Regions from separate parts of the Homo sapiens genome. Here regions 2, 3, 4 and 5 are each linked to region 1. The links are contacts of gene promoters, found by promoter capture Hi-C in blood cells and fetal thymus (Javierre and others, 2016). All regions are on one chromosome and are shown on one strand. Each heading gives the region's core, a stretch centred on a gene start or on the middle of the fragment in contact. The rest is flanking DNA. Distances are from core to core; before and after follow the strand shown.

Region 1 (5,594 bases), core at 1,690-4,189:
ACCCTTTTCTACTCTTTGATCTCTGTTATTCTGTCAACAGAAGATATATCACCAAATACCGTTGACTCATTTGGAAAATATGACAAATCCTTTAGGGCAGTATCCCAAAGTGTATTTTCTCACCTCGTTCCAAAACAACCTTCAATAAGGCTGTCCGTCATTCCATAAAATCGGTTGCTTTTGGATGATGGAATATATAAGACTGTGAATCCTGCAGGCATTAGTCCCCTGCTTTACATCTTTCACAAGAAAATGAGTTCTTCGGTAAGAAGCAATGTTGTATATGATATTGTATTAAATATGGAGTAGTGTGTTAAGGTATTCAGTAAGTCCACAGGTGAAGTATATAATAAGCATAAATCAGGGAAAACAATCTAAATGCAGAATAATTGTCTCTTCCTGTAAGAACAAATTGCAACCTCCTTCATAACAGTAGGATTTCATTGTAATCAGACCTGCCACCCAGACCACATAAAAGTGTATCATGGGATCAAGTTGGTCACTGCAGTTGGCGAGTAGTGGTAGTAGCCAATCAGTCATGGCAGAAGAAAGACGGTGTTAAAAGTACATGTATGTCTCCATTCTTGCCACCGTGGCTACCTTGTTACTGAGTCCACACCTGTTGTGGGGGAAGGAGGCTGAGTAATTGATGTCCACAGAATGGGTCACTGTTGCAGCCCTTGTGTAATCCCCTTTTGAGAGTGGCCGGGACCTAATAATAGGATACAGTGGAAGTGGTGGGATGTCGCTACCGAAATGAGATTACAGAAGTTCAGGGCTTCCATTTTGAGTGGTCTTTCTTGCTCCTTAGTTCATTTGTCCTGTGGAAAGCCAGCTGCCATGTTGCAAGATAGCCTTTGGAGAAGCCCACTTAACAAATAACTGAGAAGGTTTCCAGTCCAAAGTCCACAAGGAACCAAATCTTGCCAATAATCATGTGAATGAGCTTGGAAGCAGATCTTCCCTTAGTTGTGCATTTATACGAGACTGGGACTTCAGCCAACAGCTTGGCTGCAACCTCATTTAGGACCCAGAACCACAGTCACTCTGGCTTCTAGGTTACTGATCCACAAAAACTGTGAGAGAATAACTGTTTATTGCTTTAAGCCAATAAATTTTGGGATAATTTGTGAGGCAGCAATAGATAACTAATAATCTTGTTCTGATTAAGAGCCCTTCTGCAATGGAAGCTCTTTTTTTTTTTTTTTTTTTTAACGTTCAATAGGACCCAAATGTTTTCATGCTTTGGGACCACTTTGAGAGGTCCTATTCCAAAGACCCAGTCCAAAACTTTTACATTCCCAGTTCCCAGCCACTTGACAAACCAGTCACTGCCTATGAAATGTCGATTTTTATCTCAAGCCATGTCTCTTTTTAGGCAAAGCATACAAGATAAGCTAAATTCTGGCCAGGCACAGTGGCTCACACCTGTAATCCCAGCACTTTGGGAAGCTGAGAGGGGTGGATCCCTTGAGGCCAGGAGTTTGAAACCAGCCTGGTCAACATGGCGAAACCCTGTCTCTACTAAAAATAGAAAAATCAGCCAGGTGTGGTGACATGTGCCTGTAAAAACATAAAATACATAAATAAGCTAAATTATGCATGCTGGAAATAATTTTTTTTCCCTGTTCTGTTCCTTCAGGGCCTCTGTTAAGTGGGGCTCTAAATATGAAAAGCAGTCAGTTGCCAGCTGGGCCAGTTTATTGAGCAAAGCCATCATCCGACTTTGAATTTTTTCCTCAGTCAGCTAGTCACAAGGAATTCATTATTAAACTGTAGATATAAGCTAAAGGTCAAAAGCATGATATTAGGACTGTGAGCTCCCTACAAATGAAAACTGTTTCCGTTTTGACTTTGGCCCAGTTCTGTGTATCCCACTTTCTCTCTTTTTTCTTTTTCTGTTTTTGAGATGGAGTTTTGCTCTGTCTCCAAGGCTGGCGTGCAGTGGCGTGATCTCTGCTCACTGCAATCTCCGCCTCCCGAGTTCAAGCGATTCTTCTACCTCAGCCTCCCAAGTAGCTGGGATTACAGGAATGTGCCACCTCGCCCGGCTAATTTTTGTATTTTTAGTAGAGTGTTGGCCAGGCTGGTCTCGAACTCCTGACCTCAGGTAATCTACCCGCCTCGGCCTCCCAAAGTGTTCGGATTACAGGAGTGAGCCACCTTGCCCGGCCCACTTTCTCTTCGTAAAAGGATCTCCTTATCTAGGAGAACCAGATAATTCTCAGTTCATGATAAGAAGCTTCGATCGTATAACCACTTGATGTCACATGGTCAGACACTACCAAGGCGCAATAGCTAGCCAGAAACTTTTCTTTAAAAGAAAAGACAAAATTCCAGAATTCTGGGGGCCTTCACTATGATTCTGTAAATATTTCCACGAGTTGCACAAAGCATCCAGGTCTGCCACATCCACTCAACGCTATCAGAGCTGGTGGGATGTAAGGGTTAAGGGGCAGAGCTCATTGCACTGGATCCTGGCCTGGATGGAGAGCCTTTTCTTGCTTTGCACCTCATTCAAAAATGTCGCCTTTCATATCATCTGGTTAGTCGGTCAGAATGGACGAACTAGGAGCTGACTGAACAAAGATTTAAAACACAAAACAGGGAGAATTAGGTAAAAGAAGCATTTTACATGAGTGAGAGAGTAAAAGGTGCTCAATCTTTGTAAACTATAAAAGGGATCTTCCACGGGCCATTTCGGCTCAGACTGACAAGCATGAACGGAACGGAATTATTCCCTCTTCTAACTGCAGCCACGATTTGGCGTTTTAACACCGGGCTCAAGGTAGCCTGGGTCTCTCTTGGCCAAAGAGCCCAGGGATGCCTCTAACTCCTTTTCTAAAGCCGGCCACGGAGGCCCCGCCCTCTGCAGGGAGGCTCCGGATCATGCCCCCTGCTCCTCCCACTACTGCTTTGCGCCTGCGCGGAGGCTCGGGGAGTCGGCGCCATGACCCCATCGAGGCTTCCCTGGTTGCTTAGCTGGGTCTCGGCCACGGCGTGGAGAGCGGCAAGTAAGCACCTGGCCTCGGGGCCACGGTCGCGGGAGGGGTCGTGAAGGCCCAGGCGCAGAGAGAAGCGCCTCCCGCGGAGGAAGCCGCGTGTGTCCTGGCCGTTCGGTGTTGCCAGGGGCTGCCCAGCTTCTCCCGCCCAGCCGCCCACCCGGTGGCCTGGGCAGGTTCCTGCAGCGCCCCGGGTCTCGGGTGGGACTAGAGCGAGAAAATCGCTAAGGCCCTTTCAGCCCCCGGGACGTCCGCTTCCTACCGAGCACGCGGTGGCCCAACAGGACCACAAACGTTCCGGGTTGTTCCTGTGGGAGCTCGCAGGGCACACCGCACTTCGATGCCCCAGAGAAAAATGGAAAAGAAGGCCCTTTGGGAATGGGAGTCATTGATTTACTTATTTATTTACATCATTATTTACAGGAATCCGCGCTCCTGGTCCAGGCTCCAGCAGAAAAGGATTTGTGGCAGTTTACAGTTTATCTTTTAAAAATGGGAAAAGTGCAGAAGTGAGCCAAAGGCAAATAAGTATAACGTAAATTAGATGAAGCCAGGAATTGTCAGTACAGAAAAAGCATTCATGCTTTCAGTAAAACCAACATTTTTAAACCCATTGTTGTTGGAAATTTTTCTCAAGATAATACAGTTAGCAGCCCAGACTATGCAAAACATAATTTTATTTATTTATTTATTTATTTGTTTATTTATTTTGAGATGGAGTCTCGCTCTGTCCCTCAGGCTGGAGTGCAGTGGCGCAATCTCGGCTCACTGCAAGCTCTGCCTCCCAGGTTCACGCCATTCTCCTGCCTCAGCCTCCTGAGTAGCTGGGACTACAGGCGCCCGCCACCGTGCCTGACTAATTTTTTGTATTTTTAGTAGAGACGGGGTTTCACCGTGTTAGCCAGGATGGTCTCGATCTCCTGACCTTGTGATCCGCTCGCCTCGGCCTCCCAAAGTGCTGGGATTACAGGCGTGAGCCACCGCGCCCGGTCCGCAAAACATAATTTTAATATATGACACCTGGAGAAGTTATGTAAGTTGAAAACAGTAATTATTGCCCTCAAATGGTGCCAGATTTCTATGCAATTTGTTTTCCTTTGTGCAATCATTTTACCCAAATACAAACATTTTACTTAATTGTATAAGTTTTAAATAGTCCAGAAATGAATAATACAGAAAGTGAAAGTCCTACATTATCCAAACCTCAAGGTAATAACGTTAAAATTTTGTAGGGTTCATTCAACATCCCCCTTTAACTAGTTTTAAACAATTATGAATTATTCCATATATATATATGTATACACACACACACACGTAGCACACATGTAAGCTATGTAGCAGTCATGTAAGCTATGAAGCACAACCAGCATCTATGAACTTATACTCCAATTTAAGAAATAGTCTCTATTGCCAAGGAGGTCTCTATTTGCTGCTTCCTGATACAACTGTGCAATGGTGTTTTTAATCTTTATAGAAATGTTTTCATATTGTTGATTTTTTTTCAGATAACGCTGTGTTTTGTGATTGAGTCACATTGACGCATGAGGTTGTAGTTATTCATTCAACTGTGTGAACATATGATGCATTTTCCAGTGCCCTTCTCAAAGGACATTTGGGTAATTCCAGAAACACTAGGATTGGGTGCTACACATTCTTGTGTACCTTATTTGTGCATTAGTGGAAGGAGTAGAATTCCTGGAGTATGTTATAGGTCTTTTCATTGTTACAATATAATGCCAAGGTGTAACGGCATTTTCTAATTCTATAGCAATTTTCACTTCTACCAGCAGTGTATTGGAGTTCTGTTGTTCCACAAACTTGCCGAAACTTAATTTTGCCTTAGGTTTTAATTTTTGGCTGCCTACAGGGAAATGAAATGACACCTCATTGTGATTTTGCTTTTCTCTGATTAAAGAAGTAAAACATCTTTTCAAATATTCACTTTTTGTGAAATACCTCTTTCTTTTTTCTTTTTTTTTTTTTTTTTTTTTGAGGCGGAGTTTCGCTCTGTCGCCCGGGCTGGAGTGCAGTGGCGCGATCTCGACTCACTGCAAGCTCCGCCTCCTGGGTTCACGCCATTCTCCTGCCTCAGCCTCCCGTGTAGCTGGGACTACAGGCGCGCGCCACCACGCCCGGCTAATTTTTGTATTTTTAGTAGAGACGGGGTTTCACCGTGTTAGCCAGGATGGTCTCGATCTCCTGACCTCGTGATCCGCCCGTCTCGGCCTCCCAAAGTGCTGGGATTACAGGCGTGAGCCACCGCACCCGGCCTCTTTTTTCTTTCTTTGTTTTTGAGACGGAGTTTCACTCTTGTTGCCCAGGCTGGAGTGCAATGGCGAGATCTCAGCTCACTGCAACATCTGCCTCCTGAGTTCAAACGATTCTCCTGCCTCAGCCTCCCAAGTAGCTGGTATTACAGGCGCCCACCACCACACCCAGATAATTTTTTGTATTTTTGGTAGAGACAGGGTTTTGCCATGAACTCAGGTGATCTATCAGCCTCGGCCTACCGAAGTGTTGGGATTACAGGCGTGAGCTGCCACGCCCGGCCTTTTTTCTTAACAGATTGCTTCTTATTTATATTCTTTACAT
Region 2 (5,594 bases), core at 2,029-4,528, 390 kb after region 1:
GCCTTCCTACATATAAAGATGGTGCGATTGAAATCAAACAGAGTGTACCATGACGAATAGAACCATGATAGGGTCTGGAAGACCCCAAGTAAACAGTTGGCACTTAGTTTAGACACTTTTTGCTGTCTAGCTGGCCTACTAGCTGAGTGCCTGACCTTCTGTAACTTACCAGGAAGAAGGGCTGTGCTTCCCAGGCAGGTCCCAGGGAAGTGCTTGCAAAGCAGAAGGAAAGCTCCAGACTGTTCTGCCCTAGCCTATGATAAATAATTTCTGAGCCCATCTTGTCTGGGTTGTCTGCCTTTCTCGGGCTTGTTCACAAATAAATCTCTCTCCGACTGTGCGTTCTGGTGCAACTGAGAGCTCTGGGGCGAATGGCTCTCCAGCTTTTCTGACAGCTCCTCTTCTCCCAGTCCTACCCCTGAACCCCCCACCTGTTAAAAGGCATTGGCTCATCTGTGAATTTCCCTAACTTCCTCTTCAGATTCTGAAACGTGAGAGTGAAATTTCAGACTAACACCCAGCCACCCCAACAACTCCCTAGAGCTAGCCTTCTGTCCCAACTTCCCTGTGCCATCCACAACTCATACATTAAACTCTGCAGATTAGTGCATCCTAAACATAGAAAACAACGAAGCCATTAGACCTCTTCCCATTCTCTCGAATAGCCTAATGTGCCTCTGAATATAACACAACCTTGGAAATGTATTCTGCACCAGCATCATGCCAGGATGGGGAAGAGGAAAGAAGTCAAGGCCTCCCTTTAAGAAAAGGTTTTTCTTAGGAAGCAGTGCACCCCTCTCCCCTAAGTTACTGAAGTCTGGTTCATCCTGTTGGAAATTTTAAATTTGGTTAAAATGCCTTGTGTTTGCTGGAATAAAATTCATGTTGTTACTGAATTGTACTAAAAACATCACTAACCTTTGTTAGTGGGGAACTTTTGGTTGGTCCAACTATGCCATAAAACCTATTTGCTATTACATCCTCTCCAGGAACCAGGGCTATTCAGAGATGAAACACTGTGTGTGTGTGTGTGTGTGTGTGTGTGTGTGTGTGTCTGTGTGTGTGAGAGAGAGAGAGAGAGAGAAAGACAGACAGACAGGGTCTCTCTTCAATGCCAAGGCTGGGGTGCAGTGACTTGAACACAGCTCACTTCAGTCTCGATGTCCTGGGCTCAAGCAATCCTCCTGCCTCAGCTTTTTGAGTAGCAGGAACTACAGATATAAGCTGCTACACCCTGCTAATTTTTTCATTTTAGTTTTTGTAGACTGGGGTCTCCTATTACCCAAGATGGTCTTGAACTCCTGGGCTCAAGCAGTCCTTATGCCTTGGCCTCCCAAAGTGCTGGGATTACAGATGTAAGCCATTGTGCCTAGCCCAAAGCACTTTCAAAATCAATTGAATTTGCAGTTTGAGACTTTAGCTCATGCCCAGAATTCATGGGTGTCATAAAACACAACACTTAATTAGCACATCACAGACTGTCACTTCATTTTTTTCTATTACCCTTAGCATTTGTACCCAGGTTTATTTCATTCAGTCATCTGTTGGGGAGCTTCATGGTTCTTGGAGTCAGGCAGACCTGGGTTTGAGTCCCCTCTGGGATACTTTCTACTGTGCAACTTTAGAAAATCAGTGAACCTCCCAAGGCCTGTTTCCTCATCTGGAAAATGGGGTTAATAATACATACTCCATGGGAATCTTGCAAGGATTAAATGGTGTATGTTGGGTAGTTTGAAGAAGAGCCATTATTACACAGGCAGTCAATAAATGATATTTCAATACAGATAACCCTTCCTCAAAAGAACACCTTAACACAAGAGATCTTGATGGATCATCGTTATCAAATGAATATAAAATGAAATCTAAACAGGACTGATAATGCTTCTAAATAGTACCTCTGCTTGTAATGAAGATAATTCCTAGAGTGTATGTTAGAGTCTTCCCAAGTTGGTCTAGGGAGTGGAAGAAAGAAGAAATAAATTTACCCCAAATGCAAGGTATAGCTTGTCATGCAATAAGGATGACATGATTCCAAGTGACATTTATTTCAGATGGCTGAATATGCCATATTGTTTTACATTAAGCCACTCAATATGTGGCCCCGAATCTCTTATGATCAAATCTGAGCAAAGATATAAAGATACGAAAATTATCATTAAGGATGTCCATTAGAAGTACAAAACCAGGGCAAAACATTTTTAAGTGCAAAAACTTATACTTTAAAAATATGTCACGAGTCTATCAGGGGCTGGAATGGAAACAACTCCTTTAAATGGGAGCTTGGAGAAAATGTCATTTTTATGAAGCATAATCACTAAGTAAGCTATGGTACTTTTCCATATAGCTTATGATATTCTTACATAAAACAATTTAAGCTTGATCTGTGGCTGATAATGAAGGTTGCTGGAAGTCACTAGAGTAATTAAAATAATTACCTAACTTCGGAGCGTCTGCACATCCTCTCAGTGTTTATTTTCATTTAATCTCTCTAATTATTTATGTAGCAAAGTGAGCATTGCTTCGTCTGTACTAATGAAGCCTTAGATTGCTGGCATCAGCCACTGCATTTCAGCATTCAGTTGTTGTTCTCAAATAAACAAAGGTAAAAAAAATCCCATTTGGGGAATTAACAAAAACCATATCATATAATCACTAAACATTTACATTTTGCCTTGATGAGTAATATGCAACTGTAACTTCAGCAGCAGAAAGACTGCAATATGGTTACTGCACTGTACAGAAATGATCCCATTTGACATTTGAGCCTGGGGTTCTGCTAGTGTGACTAAATCAACCTTCAAGTAAGCATTTGGGGACATCTTTGATATTCTTAGTCAAGTAGGAAAAGGATTGTACAAAATTAAGTATTTATAAATATATAATATTGTAGTTATGCAAATTAGGTTTTGAAGAGAATCAGAACTAATGCATGTATGAGTAATAATGTAACGTGAAAGTATTGATAATGTCCACATGCATGCGAACATAAATACCTTCTGTTAAAATATCAGACACAATTATGTGAAAGAATGATATCAAAATAAATAATTCTAACAGCCCCAAATTCCAGGGATACATGACAGTTTCATTGATAACTGTCAGAAAAATGACATCTAAACTACAAATTAAATGGCTCATTTGTTCTTTTATGCATCCGGATCCTCTACAAATATCTCTTTTTGCCTAGAATTGTTCTAAATTATAATGTTTCCTTAACATTTTAGACATTTGCAGCCATTATGTACAAAATGTGACATTAGAGGTAGTTCAGTAAAATCCCATTTTTATAGGATGGGTTAGGAACAAGGTTTTTCAGTAAAAGTGATTTTCTAGAAAAGTAGAAATTGGCAATTTACCTTAACAATTCCATTGAAAACTAATTCCATTCAGTGTGAATAAGAGCTGACGATATAGCATACCAGTGTTCCTTCCTTTCCTTTTATTAACGGATTAGAATGCACAAAAAAACCAATAAAACATGCATAAAGACATACTGGCATTCTTTCTTTTTCCCCTCACTATCTTAAAAATTGGCATTTACATTAAAATAGTAATTTGTTAGACATGAATTTTATTGTAAAACTACATAACCTACCTTTCTGGTTGTTATGAAAATCAAAGAAGATAATGTAGATGAATGTAATTTTAGACACTGTAGTTCATACCTGTAAGAGAATCTCCCTCTATCTTACAGGAGGGGCATGCAACAACATTGGCCATGGGTTGTAATTGTTGAAACTAGGAAATGAAGACCTGGGGTTCCTTATATTATTGGGCCTATTTTTGCGTATGTGTCAACATTCCCATGATAAAAAATTAAAATATGTAAAACAGGTTATGTTCTACCACTTGTTTGCCAAGATAATACTGCTTCCAACTGCTCTTGTTTTAAGAACTACATCAAGTGCCTGATTTGTGCAAAATATTATGGGTTGAATGTATCCCCTCAAAATTCATACATCAAAGTCCTAACCCCCAGTACCTCAGAATGTGACCGTATTTGGAAACAGGGTCATTGCAGATGTAAGCAGTTAAGGTGAGTTAATACTGGAGTAGGGTAGATCCCTAATCCAATGTGAATGGTGTTCTTATTAAAAGGGGATGTTTGGGCACAGGGGCTCGAACACAGGGAGAACACCACGTGGAGATTGGAGCTATACTGCCACCAGTCAAGGAATGCCAAAGCTTTCCAAAAAAACCACCAAAAGCTAGGGGAGGCACATGGAACAGATACTTCCCTGGTGCATTTGAAGTGAGTGCGGCCCTGTGGACACCTTAATTTTGAACCTTTGGCCTCCAGAACAGTGAGACATAAATTTTTGCTGTTTAAGCCACCCAGTTTGTGGAACTTTGTTACAGCAGCTGTAGCAAACTAATACAGATAGGAAGTGATGGTGGTAGTGCAATTATAATCTGATAGGAACTTGTGCATAATGATAGGATGAAACCAACAGGTGTTTGTGTGCACACGCATGCATGGGAACAAAGGAATAGGTGAAGAACACTGAGTACAGAACTCATCAGCTTCCTCAAAGCTTCAAAGTGAAACATTGATGGGTGGGATTTCAAATCCAGACTCTATGGTATGATTGACGGTACTCGAGAGGCCTAAGCAGTACTCGAGAGGCCTAAGCAGGCAACAGGCTTGACGGAGGAGACTAAAGAGAAGGCTTACTAAGTGAATACTGTCTTCCGTAACTGACATAACTTTCTGCCACGGGAAAACCTCCTTTCCCAGTAAATACTAGTTGAATCATCTAACCCCACTCTATGGCTTTTAAGGCCAGTGTAGTGCCAGTTGGGGTTTTGCCCAGATGTGTCACCCCCAACAGATTGGTACTGGCCACCGTAAGCCATATTGGTGGCCGTGGGCTCAGGCATCTCTGCAGCCAGATCAGAAACTGCTGTCACCATGCCTTTCCTCCACAAGAAGATAGTAGAAGCATTTACAGTCATTTTATCATGAAGCCATTTTACTATTTTAGATGAAATTTAAAAATTAATGTAGCTTTTCATCACATCTATCTGTAATTCACTCAAGGATACATCTTGATCAAGGATACAACCCCTGGGCAGGGTATAGTGGCTCACACCTGTAATTGAGGCCAGGAGTTTGACACCAGCCTAGGTAAATAGGAAGACCCTCTATCTACAAAACAAAACAAAACAAAACAAAACAAAACAAAACTAGCTGGGTGTGTTGGGGCATGGCTGTAGTCCCAGCTATTTGGGGGGCTGAGACAGGAGGATCGCTTGAGCCCAGGAGTTTGAGGCTATAATGAAATATGTGAAATATGATGGCATCACTGCACTCCAGCCTGGGTGACAGAGACCCTGTCTCAAGACAGTTTTTCTGTATGAAGATTGGTGAGGGTACAAATTTTAAAAATAAACTTTAGCGAAAGCAGGGTCTGCATCCAAACCATCTATGTTTACTTAAATAAAGATGTTCTTTCCAAATGGCTGTTGGTTTAGTTGGATGCCTTTTCTTGGATATGTTGAGTACAAATATTGGGAGCAAACAATATGAATATGGGGAGTGGGTATAAGATAAAGGCCATAGAAAGTTCCAGTTACTGACTAGCTCTTGGACA
Region 3 (5,594 bases), core at 2,024-4,523, 330 kb after region 1:
GAGAGTTATTTATATATTCTGCACACAAATCTTTTATATGATGTATAAATATTTTCTCCCACTCCGTGGCTCATCTTTTCATTCTTATAACAGTGTCTTTTGAAAAACAGAAGTTTTAATCTTAATGAAGTCCAATTCATCTATTTGTTATTTTATGGATCATGCTTTTGATGTTCTACTTAAAATATTTTTGTGGCTCTGCACGGTGGCTCATGCCTGTAATTCCAGCACACTTTGGGAGGTCGAGGTGGGCGGATCACTTGAGGTCAGGAGTTCGAGACCAGCCTGGCCAACATGGTGAAACCCCGTCTCTACTAAAAATACAAAAATTAGCCAGGTGTGGTGGGGAACACCTGTAACAACAGCTATTCAGGAGGGTGAGGCATGAGAACTGCTTGAAAAAAAAAAAAATATATATATATATATATATTTGCCTAATTCAAGGTTACAAGGGTTTTCTCCTCCTTTCTACAAGTATTATAGTTTTAGGTAATATATTTAGACTATGATCCATTTTCAGTTAATTTTTATATATGGTATGAGGAACTGATTGAAGTTCTTTTCTTTTTTTGTATATGGATAACTAATTGTTCCAACTATATCTAATTGTCCTGGAACAACTGAGCCGCCATTACAACTTTTTCAAAAATCAGCTATGCATATATGTATGGGTTTATTTCTGGATGCTCTAATCTGGTCCATTGGTCTCTTCAGTGATCTTAATACCAATGCCACAATATCCTGATTTACCATAGCTTTATAATAAGTCTTATAATCAGATAGTATTACTCCTCCAACTTTATCCTTCATTTTCAAGGTTGTTTTGACTGTTATAGATCCTTTTTATTTCCACATGAATTTCAGAGTCAGTTGGTCAATTTCAGCAAATTCCGATAGAGATTGCATTGAATCTATATATTAATTTGGTGACATCTTAACAATATTGAGTTTTCTAGCCCATAAACATGATCTCTCTACATTTATTTAGGTCTTTAATTTCTCCCAGCAATGTTTTGATGATTTAATTCTTGAATCAATATTAACATTTAATGCTTTTGTATCCTAGATCTTCCCCATAGGTGGGACAAAAACCCAGGAAATTTACTAAAATTTTCATAAAAATATAGTCCCCCCCACCTCCCCAACTCACTCCAGCTTCAGACTCCTCTTTCCTGACATACTCAGAAAGTAAAAATATTTCAAATTTTTGGCCTTAGATGTTAAACATGGCAAACACAGAGAAACCAGGTTAAACCTAATACATACTTTTAAAAAATTAACAGAATGGCTTTATATATAAGGCAATAACAATAGTACTGTGGGTTTTTGGGTAAGATAATCTTCTTAAAATGGCCATGATTTTTCAGCTCCTAAACTGCTTTTGCCCAGAACGCTAAATATTCAAATCTGTGAAAAACTGGTGGGCAGACCCCATCTGACACCTCTGTGCTCCCTTAAGAATGTATAAGATTGTGCCCTGCACACAGCAGGTATTAAACAACTCTTGGCAAGTGTTTAAATACTAATTAGTCATTTACATATGGGCCCATTAGCCAGGTGTGGTTGGTGGTGTGTGCCTGTAGTTCCAGCTACTTGGGAGGCTGAGGCGGGAGGATTGCTTGAGCCCGGGAAGTAGAGGTTGCAGTGAGATGTGATTGCACCACTGCACTCTGGCCTGGACAATGAAGCAAGACCCTGGCTCAAAATAAATAAATAAATAAATAAATAAATAAATAGGAATGAAAAACAAATAGAAATAAAAAATAAATGTGGGCCCACATGTAACAAGAAATCACTATGTGTCTGTGCTGTGCAAGAGACATGCTCACAATAAAAAAGGGAGACAGGTAATAAATGAACAGAAGGCAAAAGACATTTTTAAAAAAGGAAAAGAGAAATTGCCATTAAAGGGAATTAAAAAGAATAATAAACTATACCTGTGGGACCACTAGAACAATTAAATATGGCCACAGAAATTCAGCATGTTTTGCATTAGACTTTTCATTTAAGCTGGGTCATGAAAGGTATATAGGGTTTTGTCCACAGAATACAGAATGGCCTCAGGTTCTAGGTAACCAGATGAATCAAAGAAGCAAAACTTTGCATGCATTCCTGTGCCAATTTCATGCTAGAAAATGTAGGTTTTGCTTAGCACACTCCAAATTACTGAGAGCAGCTCAGAGCTAACATTTGTTCATGCTTTATTTTTCTAGAGGCTGGGTGTTAAAGGTGAGGCAATGATTATTTAAATGCAGATGACGTGGCGGGATGATGTTTCCAGGTATGCTACATTTTAAAAAGTTTGTCATATAATTAGTTTAAAAACTCAAACAGATCCAGATGCCCTCACCATCTATGCCCTGCTGAAATTCCATGCAGAATGCTTCATCACAGAATTAGCCCCTCTATCCTCGACCACTATACTATATAGAGTGTGCCAGACATTTCAAAGGAAAACGGCACAGCTATTTACAGAACTTCTTCATTTCACTCCTGGGATCTGTCCTTTGTTCTGTGTCATTTTCACTCAATCTATGCTCTTTGAGGATTCCTTAACAGCCCTGTTATTTTCTGAGGGGTAGGGGGAATGTAACAACAACAGTGACTACTAAAAGTATCTTCATGTAACTAAAATATTCTCAGTATTTAAAAGCTTTGCTACTTTCTCAACATGAAATAGCAGTTACATAACAAACACAATCTCAGGTGTCTGGTGTGAACTCCAATCTAAAACAGAGCATTAAAGCAATGGATATTATGATAAAGGGGCAGCAATTCATGTATTTATAGGAGTTATAATATTACAAACAGTTCTGGCCCCCAAAAGCACTCTCTTCCCATTTATTCAATGCCAAAGTCATATTCTGTGGTTTATTCCTCCTGTGATAACCTCCAGCTAAATGGACAGGGCTTGCATAGCAATGTTAATCAACCAAACTCACAGCCAGAGTAATCTCCATAGACCCAATGGCTACAAAGGACACACAAGATATATTTGGTGCATGTGCACACTCCTCCAGGCTGAATGCCATTTAAACTATTCCAGGGTAGTGGTGCTTGTTCATCACGTTGTCATCTTCTCCAGGAAAGGAGGGAGGCAGGTGACTACCATGCACTCCAGTCTGGTGGCCCTTAACAACAACCGGCTCTTTTTTTTTTTTTTGAGTCAGGGTCTCCTCTGTCACCCAGGCTGGAAGTACTCACTGCAGCCCCCAACTCCTGGGATCAAGTGATCCTCCCACCTCAGCCTTCTGAGTAGCTAAGATTACAGGCATGCCATGCCAGGACAGCTTTTTAAATTTTCTATAGAGTTGGGGTCTCACTATGTTGCCCTGGCTGGCAGCTCCTGTTTCTTTAGCCAGCTTTTCTTTCTGCAGCTTTCTGCTACGTTCTTTTCGACCCTCCTTGGGAGATGGCTAACAGCCAGCTCCAGGGACTGGAACACTCAGAAGATCACATTCAGGCAATCATCAGAATGCCCTTAGAGCAAAACAGAAAAAGTTAAATGTCTTTAGCTTCCTTGAAGACATGCCACTAGTTAAAATCTTGTTTTATTTTTTCCAAAGGGAAATGAATAAAGTTATCGATCTTCTGAAATTTAAAATGCTATAGGCAACTTCAAGAAAGTGGAGTTACAATAAAAAATGTGACACTCTGTATCCTGTTTTTTTAAACTAACAATTTCAGTAGCAAAAAGTAAACGAAACCCATCAAATCCAATGGGACCCATGAACTAAGAACACAAAGGAAAGGGCAGTGCAAATATGATGAAGATTTGAACACAGAGGTGATTTGGAAGCAAGGATTCTTTCCAATTTTATTGTCCCTAAACGTGATTTTCCAAAACAAAACGATATTTATATGATCAAATACACCTATAACTTTCCTTTGGAACAAGCTTGAAAATGAACATAAAGTCTGCTTTTCTTCCTCTTTATTGCATCCCCCTCCTAATGATTTCACCATCCATCTTGGCTAGATGATTAAGGGTAACATCGATAGTCATAAATCGTGTTGATAGTATGTACCCTTGCTATGATGTGATGGGAATGACACTTAACCTCTGTGGCATTTTCTAATGCCATTCTCTTATAAAAGAAACCAGGGATTCTTAGAGAAATGGCTGATTCTAGGACTGGGATGGGAAATACACAAGATAAGCCTGGAGGAGCCAGAAAGGAAAGAAGCATTCAAATAAGACAAAAAACCGAACAAACCCACATTGGTGTGTGTGTCAAAGGGACATAGCCAATTGAAACAGCTCCTAGTGGACAAAGCTGGAATAATTTGAGCAACAAAATAAATAATGGTGAATTTGTGTACATTTGACATGATGTTATGAAAGTGGCGTAGAGTGGCTGTGCCCCTCTCAGCAGTGCCAGCCCTCCCCCGTTTGCCACAGTGTCCCCATCATTCCCCACTGCAGTCTCAATGCTGAGTCTGCATGCCAATCACCATTCATTAACCAGCTGATGCTGTCATGGGAGATACTGTATTCCTCTCTTTGAAGTGGGAAACTGAAAAACAGATCAAATGGGCCACGCATTTCAAAAATGTATGGAGGCAGTATTGTTCTATGTATGAAAACAGGGAATGTTCCTAAATATTTAGTGTGAAAAGTATGTGTATAAAGATATCATTAGAAATAAACCATAATAAGAACCATGAGACATGTGAGAAAGGGACATGACTCAAAACATTAATAAATGAAAATGAACCACGTTGAAATTTTAGCCCGTTAGATTTTAATATAAATAAAGTAATACTGCTTATACAAGAACAGCTTCACTTAATTATGTTACTTGCTTTAGGTCATATGTATTTGTGAATTCTGGTATGGACTGTCTAGGAGGGGCCTGACTGGGCTCTGCTTATTATAAAGCTATATAAATCAAGACAATGTGGCATTAGTGTAAGGATAAATACATAGATAAATGGAAGAGACTAGAGAATTTAGAAATAGTTCCTCCTACATATAGTCAGTCGATTTCTGGCTAAGATGCCAAGGCAGTTCAATGGGGGAAAAGGACAGTCTCTTCAGCAATCAGGGCTGGAATGAATGGACATCCATGCTAAAAAAAAAAAGTAGATGTGGAGAAAGAGGGACCCTTGTACATGGTTGGTAGAAATGTAAATTGGCATAGCCATTGTAGAGAACAGTATGGAGGCTCTTCAAAATATTAAAAATAGAGCTACCAAATGATGCAGCAATTCCATTATTGAACATATATATCCAAAGGATATGAAATCAGTATGTCAAAGAGAATGCCCATGTTTATTGCAGCACTATTCACAATAGCCAAGATACAAAATCAACCTAAGTGCCTATCAACAGATGAATGGATTAAGAAAATGGGATATATATATATATATATATACACACACACACACACACACACACACACATATATATATATACACATAAACACAATAGGGTACTATTCTGCCTTAGAAAAGAAGGAAATCCTGTAATTTGCAACAACATAAAAAAACTGGGAAGACATTATGCTAAGTAAAATTCACCAGGCTAAGAAACACAAATACCAATGGTCTCACTGATAAATGGAATCTTAAAAAGTCAAACTCATAGAAAC
Region 4 (5,594 bases), core at 1,412-3,911, 290 kb after region 1:
TCGTAGTGCTGGCGAGTGGAGCACCAGAAAGTAAGTGGACATTTGAGTGCTTACTAGTCCTGCTGATTGGTTTGGCTGTTTTTAGACTGTGTCCTTGTTGAGGTAGATATTTCATATTATGATGTTTACAGTATGTGAATATTAGGCTGCTCTACTATGAGAGTGGAATCATAGCTTCCCAACATTTTGGGTTTTCTTATAGTTGTCTCTTATCCACAGGGAATAGACCCCAGGGTTTTCAGCAGACTTTTAGGTTGAACAGATACTAAGTGTGATAAAAAGATCACTTAGTGATGTAGTTGCTTTGTTTTATAAACAATATTAACAATAAACACCAAGTACTTAATCCAACCATTGTGCAGAACACTTTTGTGATCATTAAGCTTATCCCAAGTTTATAGGAGAGAGACTGAAAGGAGAAGTAAAGTAACATGTCTGAGTGTACCACAGAAAGTCATGGGGGCAGGCTCTAGTCCTGGCAGACAGGCTCCAGCCCATGCTCTTAGCTCTATGATCTGCTGCTGCTTCATTGGTAGCTTAGATATATTTTATTCAGGGGTATTGTGATATTTAGTATTCCATGATATCTAATTTCTTACATATTTGAATTTTTGGAAAATTAAGCGGCTTTTTGTCGCTTACAATTCTTGCTTAGTCATAAGATTCAAAATACTGTGTAGTTTATAAGTACAATGTTTGGATGGTAACTTATTGCATGGTGTTCTAGGAGGACATTAAATGTTTGAATTTAATTTCCACTTGCAACTCACCTTATTCTGTAGTTTGAGAAGGATCAGCCAGCTTTTACTAGTCTTCATAGAATTCTTTGAAACTCTCTTCATATTCAAAACAAGTCCATATAACATGTGAATGTGATTTAATGTTTAGTGACTACGGAGATGATTAAGGTTAGCAGTTGTGATTGTATAATAGTGTGTGCAAGATATGAGATTGAGAATATTTTATATTAAATATCTACATGTTTATTTGTATTTGTGTTCATTTGCCCCCTTGTCCAAAAGTGAAGGGCAGGATATGTTCAGACAATAGATGGTCAAAGTTTTGCTGTACCTTCATTTCTGGATAGATTAGAAGCAGTCTAATATTGTAGTTAAAACTGATTAGATGTATAAAAATCCTATGATACAGGTTTTGAAAAGATAAAACCTTTTAAGTAGCCATTGCAAATCCTCTTACAGTCTGTTGTAGTTGTAGAAATGTTCTTTATTCCAAAGGATACCAGTTTCTTGAAGCAGTAGTTGCTATGGAGTGGTGGTCCTCTCATCTCTAACTATTGTTGAGCCCCAGGATTTGATGAGCAAAAACTTGGTGTCACCTTAGGTAGTAAATGCAACTTACTGTGAAAATGCTTCAGTCTACCTACATTAACAGATTCAAATTAAGAAGTACTGTCTTGATTGTAGATGTTTTTATATGGGCTTGGGCTTGTAAGTGATCCTCTTGAATGGCACCATTTTACCTTCTACAATTGTTTGATTCCTATCTAATTTTATAACTTTATTTGGATTTTAAGTAATGGATAAGCTGCGCTTTACTATGCAGAATTTGATAGCTTATTTTGGTGTTTGTCTCAGGGGACACCCTCTGCACCAGCAGCTGCAACCCTGTCTACAGTAACATCTGGGGATCTAGATTTATTCACTGAGCAAACTACAAAATCAGAAGAAGTGGCAAAGAAACAACTTTCCAAAGACTCCATCTTATCTCTGTATGGCACAGGAACCATTCAACAGCAAAGTACTCCTGGTAATGAATTTTGATATCTGCTTTCAGTGACATTACTAGAAGTACATCCTTTGTAATTATATAATAAGATCAATTATATATCTTTTATTGTTCCATGTAGTGAGTGCTTTTGTTGTTGCAGTTTATACAACTATGAAGCCGAAATGAATGAGCATTAGAATTAAAAAATTAAGAGGCATGTACAGGATTCACAGAACTTTATTTGGAATTAACAAGCTGTTCATAGATCACTAAATGTTGTTTCACAAGCTTATAGAACATGGATTATCTTTGATGAATTATTGAAACGATTTGCATGAAGTTTATGACTGCGTACAGTGTATTTTCTCTGCAGGTAAACAGTCTTGAGTTACCACATGGATTAAAAAAAATCTATGAATTTTTTTGTAATCATAACAAAATATTAGCATAAGCCTTATTGTTTACAGAGTTTTAATCTTTCACACCATTTCCTTTAAAATAATGAGCTGCATTTCACATGTGAGCTAAAATTGTTGGGCAGCCCACTACACCTATTGAAGCGAGATATAGTCAGCTCTCACTTCCCTGTTTCGTACTGGGGGACCAGTGGTACAAATCAGCAATAAAACAGTGTATGATGTCATGCTACATAGTTTGGTCTTCACAGTGGAAGATATTTTGTGTGGCTGTTGCATATGATTTACATTTCTTAATTAAATTTACTCAGGTTAATAACTGATTTGTCTGCATCCTAGAAACAACCAGCTCTCAGGGTTTAGGTGTGGGTTGGTCTGAGTAGTAGGAGCAGCCAAACTGGAATTAAAATGTTTGCTGTGAGTAGTTCAGAAAGGCAATTTTTCTGTGATTATAGAGATGAGTGCAACTACACGTGATAGCTCTGTCTTCATTCATTTTCTTTTTGTGGTGCAGGTGTATTTATGGGACCCACAAATATACCATTTACCTCACAAGCACCAGCTGCATTTCAGGGCTTTCCATCGATGGGCGTGCCTGTGCCTGCAGCTCCTGGCCTTATAGGAAATGTGATGGGACAGAGTCCAAGCATGATGGTGGGCATGCCCATGCCCAATGGGTTTATGGGAAATGCACAAACTGGTGTGATGCCACTTCCTCAGAACGTTGTTGGCCCCCAAGGAGGAATGGTGGGACAAATGGGTGCACCCCAGAGTAAGTTTGGCCTGCCGCAAGCTCAGCAGCCCCAGTGGAGCCTCTCACAGGTAGGGGTCATTTACTTTCTAGCTTCTCCCAAATCAAACCAGATTTATTTTCTAAATCTTTTTTTTTTTTTTTTTTTTTTTTTTTTAAGTCTAGTGATCTGGCAGAAAGAATTCAATAGGGATAATATGTTATAGGGTCAAAAGTATCTATAAATATTATGAAGTTGTATCAGATAGACAAATGATGTGTTATTATCGCTATTTTAGAGTATTCTGTAAAAAAAAGGTTAAACATCTTTCATTTCAAATTGTAATGTAACTGTAACGTGAACACCACTAATGGCCAGAAATTATCTCAGGCATCATGAGACTCCCTCTCTGTCACCTCTGAGATTAGCACTAAGCTTTATCCAGCTTGCTGGTGGGACATTTTTACAGTCCACTTAGACAACTTAGCTTCACTAATAATTTTAGGATCTTTTATTAGAAAATAAAAATCTAGCCTCATATTCTCAAAGCACTATTTTATGAGGGATCTAAGGCTATTTTTCAGGTCGGATGATTACTGCCCCATGGCTCTGTAAAAATTCTTTTTGTTGAGAAACCTTTGTAAAGTTGTATTTTCTTTTTACATACCCTATAATGACTTTTATGTTTAAAAAGAGTACAAAAAGATTCAATTCCCATAAGGTGTGAACCAGACATCCCCTCATATTATAAAATCCTATTTCTACCTAAGTTAGAGCTGAGATAGAACATTTCTATTTCAGGTGCTGTGTTCTGACTTTTCTCTAGCTGCACAGACAAAGGCTCTTAGAGAGGTTCATGCTCCCACTCTTCTTCCTTTTACACTTCCCATTGATGTTCCTCCAGCATTTTGGCAATCTTGGTTTCTGTTTGGTCACTTGTTTTACCTTTAGAGCATTCAGGGAATAGTCTAGAGTGATTTCTAACATTAGCACAATCACTATATATCACAGTTAATTTTGCTACCACCATTTACAAGAATATAGGTAAAACATTGGTCTCTACCCGCTGGGAATCTAAAAAATTGTATGTGCTAAGTGTCAGTCACATGGTCAACATGCTGAAGCACACCCAGCTCAGGTTAAGGTGCTAGATGAACCAGGAAGGAGTTAATACTGGCTCTTACTTCCAGATAATGCAGAAGGGTGATGCTGTTCTCCAGCACTCCATCAGTGCAATCTACTGGCCAATGACAAGGTGGTTAAAATGTCCTTTAGTAGGTATGAAGACGTGATCTGCTTCTTCAGACACTTATGCCTGATTAGTGATGTAGTTTATGTTAGTGTCTTTGAAACTGTAAATAAGTCAAGTCAAATGTATTAAATTAAGAACACAGTCTAACTCTGAGTGTAAGTTTTAAACCCACTCACTATATGGTAAATCTTGCCTTTCCTTCTCTTATCACCAATTTTGGAAGTAAGAGAATCACAGGGTTAAGATGCTTATATATATATATATTTGACTCCAGTCTTGAAGAAAAATACATGTAATCTTATGCTTTATTGCATACAATGAAAATAAATTTTAGATGTTTATGTTGTTAGATCAGCGAGAGAAATAAATGCTTTATGACCACTTTAAAAATATTTAGGAAGTATATAAGATTTTAATAGAGAATAATATCTATCATACAAAGTTTATAGGATAATTTTAGACTATTTTACTTCCTAAAATTTTCTTACTCCTTAGTAGTTAAAGCACAATATCCTAGTGTAGGTGAAAGTTAGTTAGAGTAGCGGACTCATTAAAATCCCAAGATTGCTTTGGTATTTTTTTTTAAGTAAGTTGTGGTTAATCTTTGGGGAAACTGTATCTAGAAAGTAGATAAAGAAGGGAACAAAGTAGCTATTTGCTTTAAGAAATATTTGTATGGTACTCTGTTTTTATTCCAGTGCTTGGACTAGTTGTCACATTAATGAAAAAATGACCAACTGTGTGGCTAAAGAAACAAGAATTAAAAGTGAAGTAAGCCTCTTGAACTAAGCCTTTTATATGTTTCACAGATGAATCAGCAGATGGCTGGCATGAGTATCAGTAGTGCAACCCCTACTGCAGGTTTTGGCCAGCCCTCCAGCACAACAGCAGGATGGTCTGGAAGCTCATCAGGTCAGACTCTCAGCACACAACTGTGGAAATGAAAACTGCAATACAAGTTTCATCCAGAACTACCACCTGACATTCCTTGCTGAAACGCATCTAGTTCCCCTGTTTATTCATATGCATATTTTTTTTCTTTTTACCCATTTGTTCATATTAAGAATGATCTGATTGACCGTGTTGGTCTGTACTGATTCAATTTGATGTGGTGAAAAGCAGGTTGATAAATCATTTTATGTCAAGGGCAGCTTTGCTCATATTTCCCATGATTTCATGTACTGCATTATTTGAGAAGCTGCTCAACTTGCAAAATCAGTTTTCCTCTCAATAAAATTATAGCTCTAATGTTTGCATATAAGGGAAGTAGTTATCATGTTAGTAATACCTCTAATAGTATAAACCCCACCCCAAAATTAGCCAGTAATCCTGTAGGAAGGTACTGTATGATCAAATGTTTAATCATATAAATAGAATGTAAATGTCTCACTGAGCACTGTTTTCTAGTGTATCAAAATGCTCTTATTTCATCATTCACTTCACTGTGCTGTTGTTATGATGTGCTTA
Region 5 (5,594 bases), core at 1,271-3,770, 260 kb after region 1:
GGAAACGTGTTCTTCATTTTTGTATCCCTAGTGCTTACTAGTCCTGGTATGTAACGATAAAATGTACTACTGCAACCACTAGCAGCTACCATTTATGAAGCACTTATGTGCCAGCTACTGTGAAAGGGACTCTCTTTAAATTACTTTGCTTACTTCTCACAAAAATCCTGCAAAGTATTATTTTAAGGAAACTTACCAGTGTAGCCATTCAGTATTTGGGATGAATAATAAGAAACTTTTTAGAACCATTTATAAAGCACTCTAGGTCATTCTTTGAGAAATGCTACAAACTAGGGAACCAGGAGATTAGAGATGGGCTCACGTCTTGATTTTCAGAAGGAAAATGTAGTGGATTATGAATGCTGTATCATTAAGCTTGACATGGATTCTATGCAAAATTCAAAAGGATTTTTTTTTTTTTTAACAACTTACTTCTTTTCCATAGTCTTACCAGCACTCACTGGTTGCCTGCCATGGATTCTTTAAGAACAGTTCCTGGCTGGCATGGTGTCTCACACCTGTAATCCTAGCACTTTGGGAGGCCGAGGCAGGTGGATTGCTTGAGCTTAGGAGTTCAAAACCAGTCTGGGCAACATGGTGAAATTCCATCTCTACAAAAAATTAGCTGGGCGTGGTGGCTTGTACCTGTAGTCCCAGCTACCTGGGAGGCTGAGGTGGGAGGATCACCTGAGCCTGGGAGGTCAAGGCTTCAGTGCGTGGTGATTGCACCACTGCACTCCAGCCTGGATGACAGAGTGAGGCTCTGTCTCAAACCCCAACAAAACAAAACAAAAATTAGTTGGGCATTGTGGTGCACGCCTACAGTCCCAGCTCCTTGGGAGGCTGAGGTAGGAGGGTCGCCTGAGCCCAGGAGATCGAGGCTGCAGTATAGTGAACTGTGATCTTGCCACTGCACTCCTGCCTGGGCAACAGAGTGAAACCGTGTCTCAAAAAAAAAAAAAAAAAAAAAAAAAAGAAAAAGAAAAGAAAAAAAAAACCCCACAGTTCCTGTCAGACTAAGCTTGCTTATTGGCCAAGATTCTTAAATATGCGTCTGGTCAAGATGTAGACAGGTGGGCCTGATGATCAGATAGTAAGGTAGATTATGAACCGGATAGACAGCTATCCAATTAATAGAATTGATGTCAGTTTAGAGGAAGTTCTCTGCTTTCTTCAGGGGTCAATACTGAACTTCATTCTTTTCAGCATTTTTATTAACTGTGGATATCTGTGCCATATTGTTCAAATTTTCAAATGACCAAGCAATAAAGATTAGTTAAGATATCAAATGACAGAATAAATCCCTCAGATAGTGTTAAAATAAATGCCAACAAATTGGATAAATGTAAAATTCTGAAGCAAATGTACCCAAACTTAACTGTCCTGAATATAGCACAAAAGAAAATGTCATTGAATTTTAGATGACCAAAGGTCTGGTATGAATTAATGGTCTTCTGTTGCTTTGGAGAAGGTCAGCTCCACAAATTTATTCCTCCATTTGTTTTATGCATGGCTGTAGCATAGAGAGTATGGCTAAATGGGTAGATGTTACAAATTGTCTGAAGAGGATACTTTCTAATATTTGTAATTATCCAAATGTAAAATATGCTATATCATCATATGCAGTGATTCCATAACACTGGAAGATTTTCTTACAGAGAGAATGGACGTGTAAGAGAGATGTTACAGTAGTGTTTTGTGTATCACATAATTCACTAAATGTCTTCAAGGCTGCTCCGACTTCTGCAATTTGTGTAAATCCTTGATAACTTCTCCAGCCCAGTGAGATACTGTTTGGGGCGGTAGTGTCCATAGGTCTTACAGAGAACATTTACTGAAAGATGTCCATATGATTGGGGAAATAAAATGTAGATTGTAATAAATCCTAAAAATACAATTTAAGAAAGAATATTAAATTCAAAAAGAGTACTCTATGTGTTGACAGCTTTAATTTGTAAAAGATCTATATTATAAAGAATGGTAAACAGGAGAAAAAGAAACTAAAGATTTTGAATAAATAAGATATTGGGAATAAACAAGAATTATATGCAAAATTTTTTCTCACATAAAATAGTTTTAAGGTTGTATATAATTCAGTTTTGAAAGCATACAAATACAAACAGATATAGTAATTATAGCTATCAATCTATATAGGAATATAAGACTGGTTTTTATTAATGTATTTATAGCATATAGTCAAAAGACTTTATTTGAGTAAACAACTAATGTAGGTAATATAGTGGATAATATTAACTCATGAATTTTTTACTGAAAATTTTAGTAAAGGTTAAACCTATGAAGATTTCAGTAGGTAATCAGATAGGATAGTATTCTGGGAATTAAAGGTTAAACCTATGAAGATTTCAGTAGGTAATCAAGATAGGTTAGTATTCTGGGAATTATGTGTTGTTGAGTAACTTGTTAGAAAATGTATCTCAGATAATCAGGTTCTACTGAGGCCGTAGATTAGTTTTTTCCTAAAGTATTGCTCTGACCACATCACAGTCACAAAGCCTCCCACCTACAACAATGGTGGTCAGATTTTTCTTCCTCACTGCAGTTCATATGCACAACATACTTCTCCAGGAGTAATATTTTTTCTTTTCACTACCCCCATTGAAAAACAGTGACATATATGAATGCTAGCTCTAGTTGGCTATTTATTTAGGTCCTTCCACATTGTGGAAATAGAATAAAAATCTTCAGATTCATCTTTTATTCCTTACATGTAGAACTAGAGGTCAGTCAGATACAAGCACCATCTAGCACCTTTCCCACTCAGTGTTCTTCACATGGTGCCATTGCCAATTCCAGGGAGGTCAATGCTTCAGTGAGTGGTGATTGCTCCACTGTACTCCAGCCTGGGCAAGAGTGAGGCTCTGTCTCAAACCCCAACAGAACAAAACAAAAATTAGCTGGGCATGGCGGTGCATGCCTATAGTTCCAGCTACTTGGGAGGCTGAGGTAGAAGGATCACCTGAGCCCAGGAGATCAAGGCTGCCGTGAGCTGCGATCTTGCCACTGCACTCTAGCCTGGGCAGTAGAGTGCACCGTGTTTCCTATTTGACTCTTTCCTATTTTTCCTACATACACAAAAGTTAATGTCACTACCTTTATAAAATCCTAATCACCCACGACTACCATTACCTTTGAACTTCAAAGAGTCATACTTTTCATGTGGTCTTTATAGTGTACCTTGAGTTAAAATTATTGGCATGCTTGCTCTGACCCTCTATCAGATTGTGTTTATTTTTTTTTTCTGTTTTTTTCTTTGTCTTCTTTTTGTTTTTGTTTTTGTTTTTTTTATTTTTGAGATGTGTTTTTGCTATGTTGTCCAGCCTGTTCTCCAACTACTGGGCTGAAGCGATTCTCCTACCTCAGCCTCACACATAGCCGGAACTACTGTCACGTGCCACCTGGCATGATTTTTTTAAATTGCAGTTTTCTGTTATGTCATTGTAAGAATATGCATGTATTGTTAAGCATTGGGTAAATATTTATTTTTAAATCTAATTTTTGATAGATAGAAATTATTCAGCAAAAGGCACCATGGTGCAGGGCAAGGAACCCTGTTAGGAGATTAACCTTTGCCACGATAGCCACTTACGGAGCCTTTGGACAAATCATGTCATTTAATTTCCTTAATGTTAAAATGAAAAAGTTGAATGTAATACATTTTATGTTTCTTGTTGTTCTAAGATTCTAGGAATATTAAAGGAAACTGATTATAAATAAACTAAGTTATAATTTGAGATGTCAGTTTTAAAAGAAAATTTTGAATAATTACCACTAGAACTTAGAAAATTGTATAGCTTTCCTATTGACTATATATTTATGCTCTTGTCTACATTAACTGGCCAGCTGAAGAATAGTGAATCACCTTCTAGAGGCTCAGCTGTTATGTCTGTTATTTAAAGGGCTAGGAAATGGTGGTAAATGTAGGAGTTGGGACCTAAATAGTTTTTTATTCAATTATATTCTGTGGGGTAGCGTTAATGAATCACAAAAAGATTGGGTAGTAAAGCTTCTGCTAATAAAAGCTTTAATAATTTGAACGAGACATCTGCTCAATGTGATTCTAAGGAAATTACATTTTATAAAATTGCTTTATCTAAGTAGACTTATGTTCTTGCTTGTTAGAAAATTTTGTTTAATAAATTATAGATTGCCTAATTTTATCTACCCACAGTTGACTGCATTCTTCACTTATTAAAAGACAAATTTCCTATGCAATGTTTTCAATAGCAGCAGAATTTAAAGTGGAGTGAGTCTGTATCTGTTGCTTGCCATGTCTGAGATGAATGTGAGGTATCAAAAGGATGACAGTTAAATGAGGGAAGGTGTGGTCATCAAGGTATTAATTTACTGTTATCACACACTAGTATCCCTGCCCATAAATCCTAACAAGATAATAGCATTTTTATTCTTAAATCTTCTAAAATTTGGCTTCCAGATATTATTTACTTTGTATTTATGTGATAGCTATATTTTAAGTATCTTAAATAATTGTATCTTGTAAGTCTTTGCAAAGTACAATACAGTTGGTATGCTACAGAGCAAAAGTACAAATTGATAGTTTATGTATTCATGTTTGTTGTTTAAGGTTTACAACCTTTATGTCTTGAAAATATTGATAAAAATGACTTCTTATGTTATAGGCAAACCTGGAAAAAGTCAAACATGTTCTTGAAGACTTTTCCATTTTAGAAAGTTTTCAGGAAGACATAATCCATTACACATATGTCTGTGTCTGTTAACCAAAATATTTAATTGGAATACATTTTGGAAATCTGTTGTTCCTCTCTACACATTAACATTGGTGATTTATATTGTAAAGAAAGACAAAGAGAATCAAATGTGCTTTGCTGTAGAAACTAAGTAGACTTTAGAGTGGCCATGAGACAGGATTTTTAGCATGTACACAGGGTACTGCTGCTCTCTTCTTGATTAATCTGGATTATTTAAATTGCCTTGTTGCTACAGATACTGTAATGAGGGACAAGAAGAAAATTATTCTGAACTTCCTATCTTATTTCATGAGATTTGATTTTAATTATTTTAAATGTTTGGTTTTTGAAATGCTGGATTCTTCAATGTGACAAAAGAGAATTATCATTTCAACTGTCTCTTCCTAGTCCAATAGCTGAGGCCAGCCATGATTTTCCCCTTCAGTCAGAGACTGAGTACCTGTCTTGTCAGCTTTTAGAATATGGCAATATTAGGCATCCTAGCAGTGGTCATGATATAATGATTGGAAGTAGTCTTTTCTTATTTTTACTTTTTTTTTAACTTTTATTCTAGGTTTAGGGGTACATGTGCAGGTTTTAGTTATGTAGGTAAATTGCATGTCACAGGGGTTTGGTGTACAGATTATTTTGTCATCCAAGTCATAAGCATAATACCTGATAGTTTTTTGATCCTCTCCCTCCTTCCACCCTCCAACCTGAAGTAGGTCCCAGTGTCTGTTGTTCCCTTCTTTGTGTTCATGTATTCTCAGTGTTTAGCTCCCACCTATAAGTGAGAGCGTGCAGTATTTAATTTTCTGTTTTTGCATTAGTTTGCTTAGGATAATGGCCTCCAGCTCCATCAGTGTT

Evidence for each region. The method cuts DNA at HindIII sites, captures the fragments that hold promoters and counts their contacts. A CHiCAGO score of 5 or more calls a contact.
Region 2: a fragment that was not itself captured here is called in contact with the fragment with the promoter of SDHAF4 in region 1 in 2 of 17 cell types (total CD4 T cells and non-activated CD4 T cells); the score reaches 5.4 in total CD4 T cells.
Region 3: a contact is called between a fragment that was not itself captured here and the fragment with the promoter of SDHAF4 in region 1, in 5 of 17 cell types (naive CD8 T cells, activated CD4 T cells, naive CD4 T cells and 2 more). The highest score is 6.4, in naive CD8 T cells.
Region 4: a contact is called between a fragment that was not itself captured here and the fragment with the promoter of SDHAF4 in region 1, in 3 of 17 cell types (total CD4 T cells, naive CD4 T cells and non-activated CD4 T cells). The highest score is 5.8, in total CD4 T cells.
Region 5: a fragment that was not itself captured here is called in contact with the fragment with the promoter of SDHAF4 in region 1 in 4 of 17 cell types (total CD4 T cells, non-activated CD4 T cells, activated CD4 T cells and 1 more); the score reaches 8.4 in total CD4 T cells.

Annotation. Positions count from the first base shown.
Region 1 is chr6:70,563,991-70,569,584 of GRCh38, forward strand. It overlaps SDHAF4 (succinate dehydrogenase complex assembly factor 4), which reads left to right and starts at 2,940. Exons shown (of 3, transcript NM_145267.3): 1 at 2,940-3,014. The coding sequence starts at 2,951. RefSeq lists a silencer at 3,228-3,287. The HindIII fragment of the contact is 5,796 bases long and covers 2,241-5,594 here.
Region 2 is chr6:70,958,022-70,963,615 of GRCh38, forward strand. It overlaps LOC124901229, which reads left to right. Exons shown (of 2, transcript XM_047419611.1): 2 at 1-896. Among named protein-coding and RNA genes, the nearest start is that of B3GAT2, 3.8 kb to the left of the region's middle. The HindIII fragment of the contact is 1,810 bases long and covers 2,374-4,183 here.
Region 3 is chr6:70,897,261-70,902,854 of GRCh38, forward strand. All of the region lies in intron 1 of B3GAT2 (beta-1,3-glucuronyltransferase 2), which reads right to left. It overlaps LOC105377850 (a long non-coding RNA gene), which reads left to right. Exons shown (of 5, transcript XR_001744196.2): 3 at 2,214-2,281. Among named protein-coding and RNA genes, the nearest start is that of B3GAT2, 57 kb to the right of the region's middle. The HindIII fragment of the contact is 1,245 bases long and covers 2,652-3,896 here.
Region 4 is chr6:70,855,264-70,860,857 of GRCh38, forward strand. It overlaps SMAP1 (small ArfGAP 1), which reads left to right. Exons shown (of 11, transcript NM_001044305.3): 9 at 1,596-1,767; 10 at 2,659-2,966; 11 at 4,937-5,594. The coding sequence ends at 5,071. It overlaps B3GAT2 (beta-1,3-glucuronyltransferase 2), which reads right to left. Exons shown (of 4, transcript NM_080742.3): 4 at 1,416-5,594. Among named protein-coding and RNA genes, the nearest start is that of B3GAT2, 99 kb to the right of the region's middle. RefSeq lists a silencer at 2,240-2,389. The HindIII fragment of the contact is 1,294 bases long and covers 2,015-3,308 here.
Region 5 is chr6:70,825,986-70,831,579 of GRCh38, forward strand. All of the region lies in intron 6 of SMAP1 (small ArfGAP 1), which reads left to right. Among named protein-coding and RNA genes, the nearest start is that of B3GAT2, 130 kb to the right of the region's middle. The HindIII fragment of the contact is 3,003 bases long and covers 1,020-4,022 here.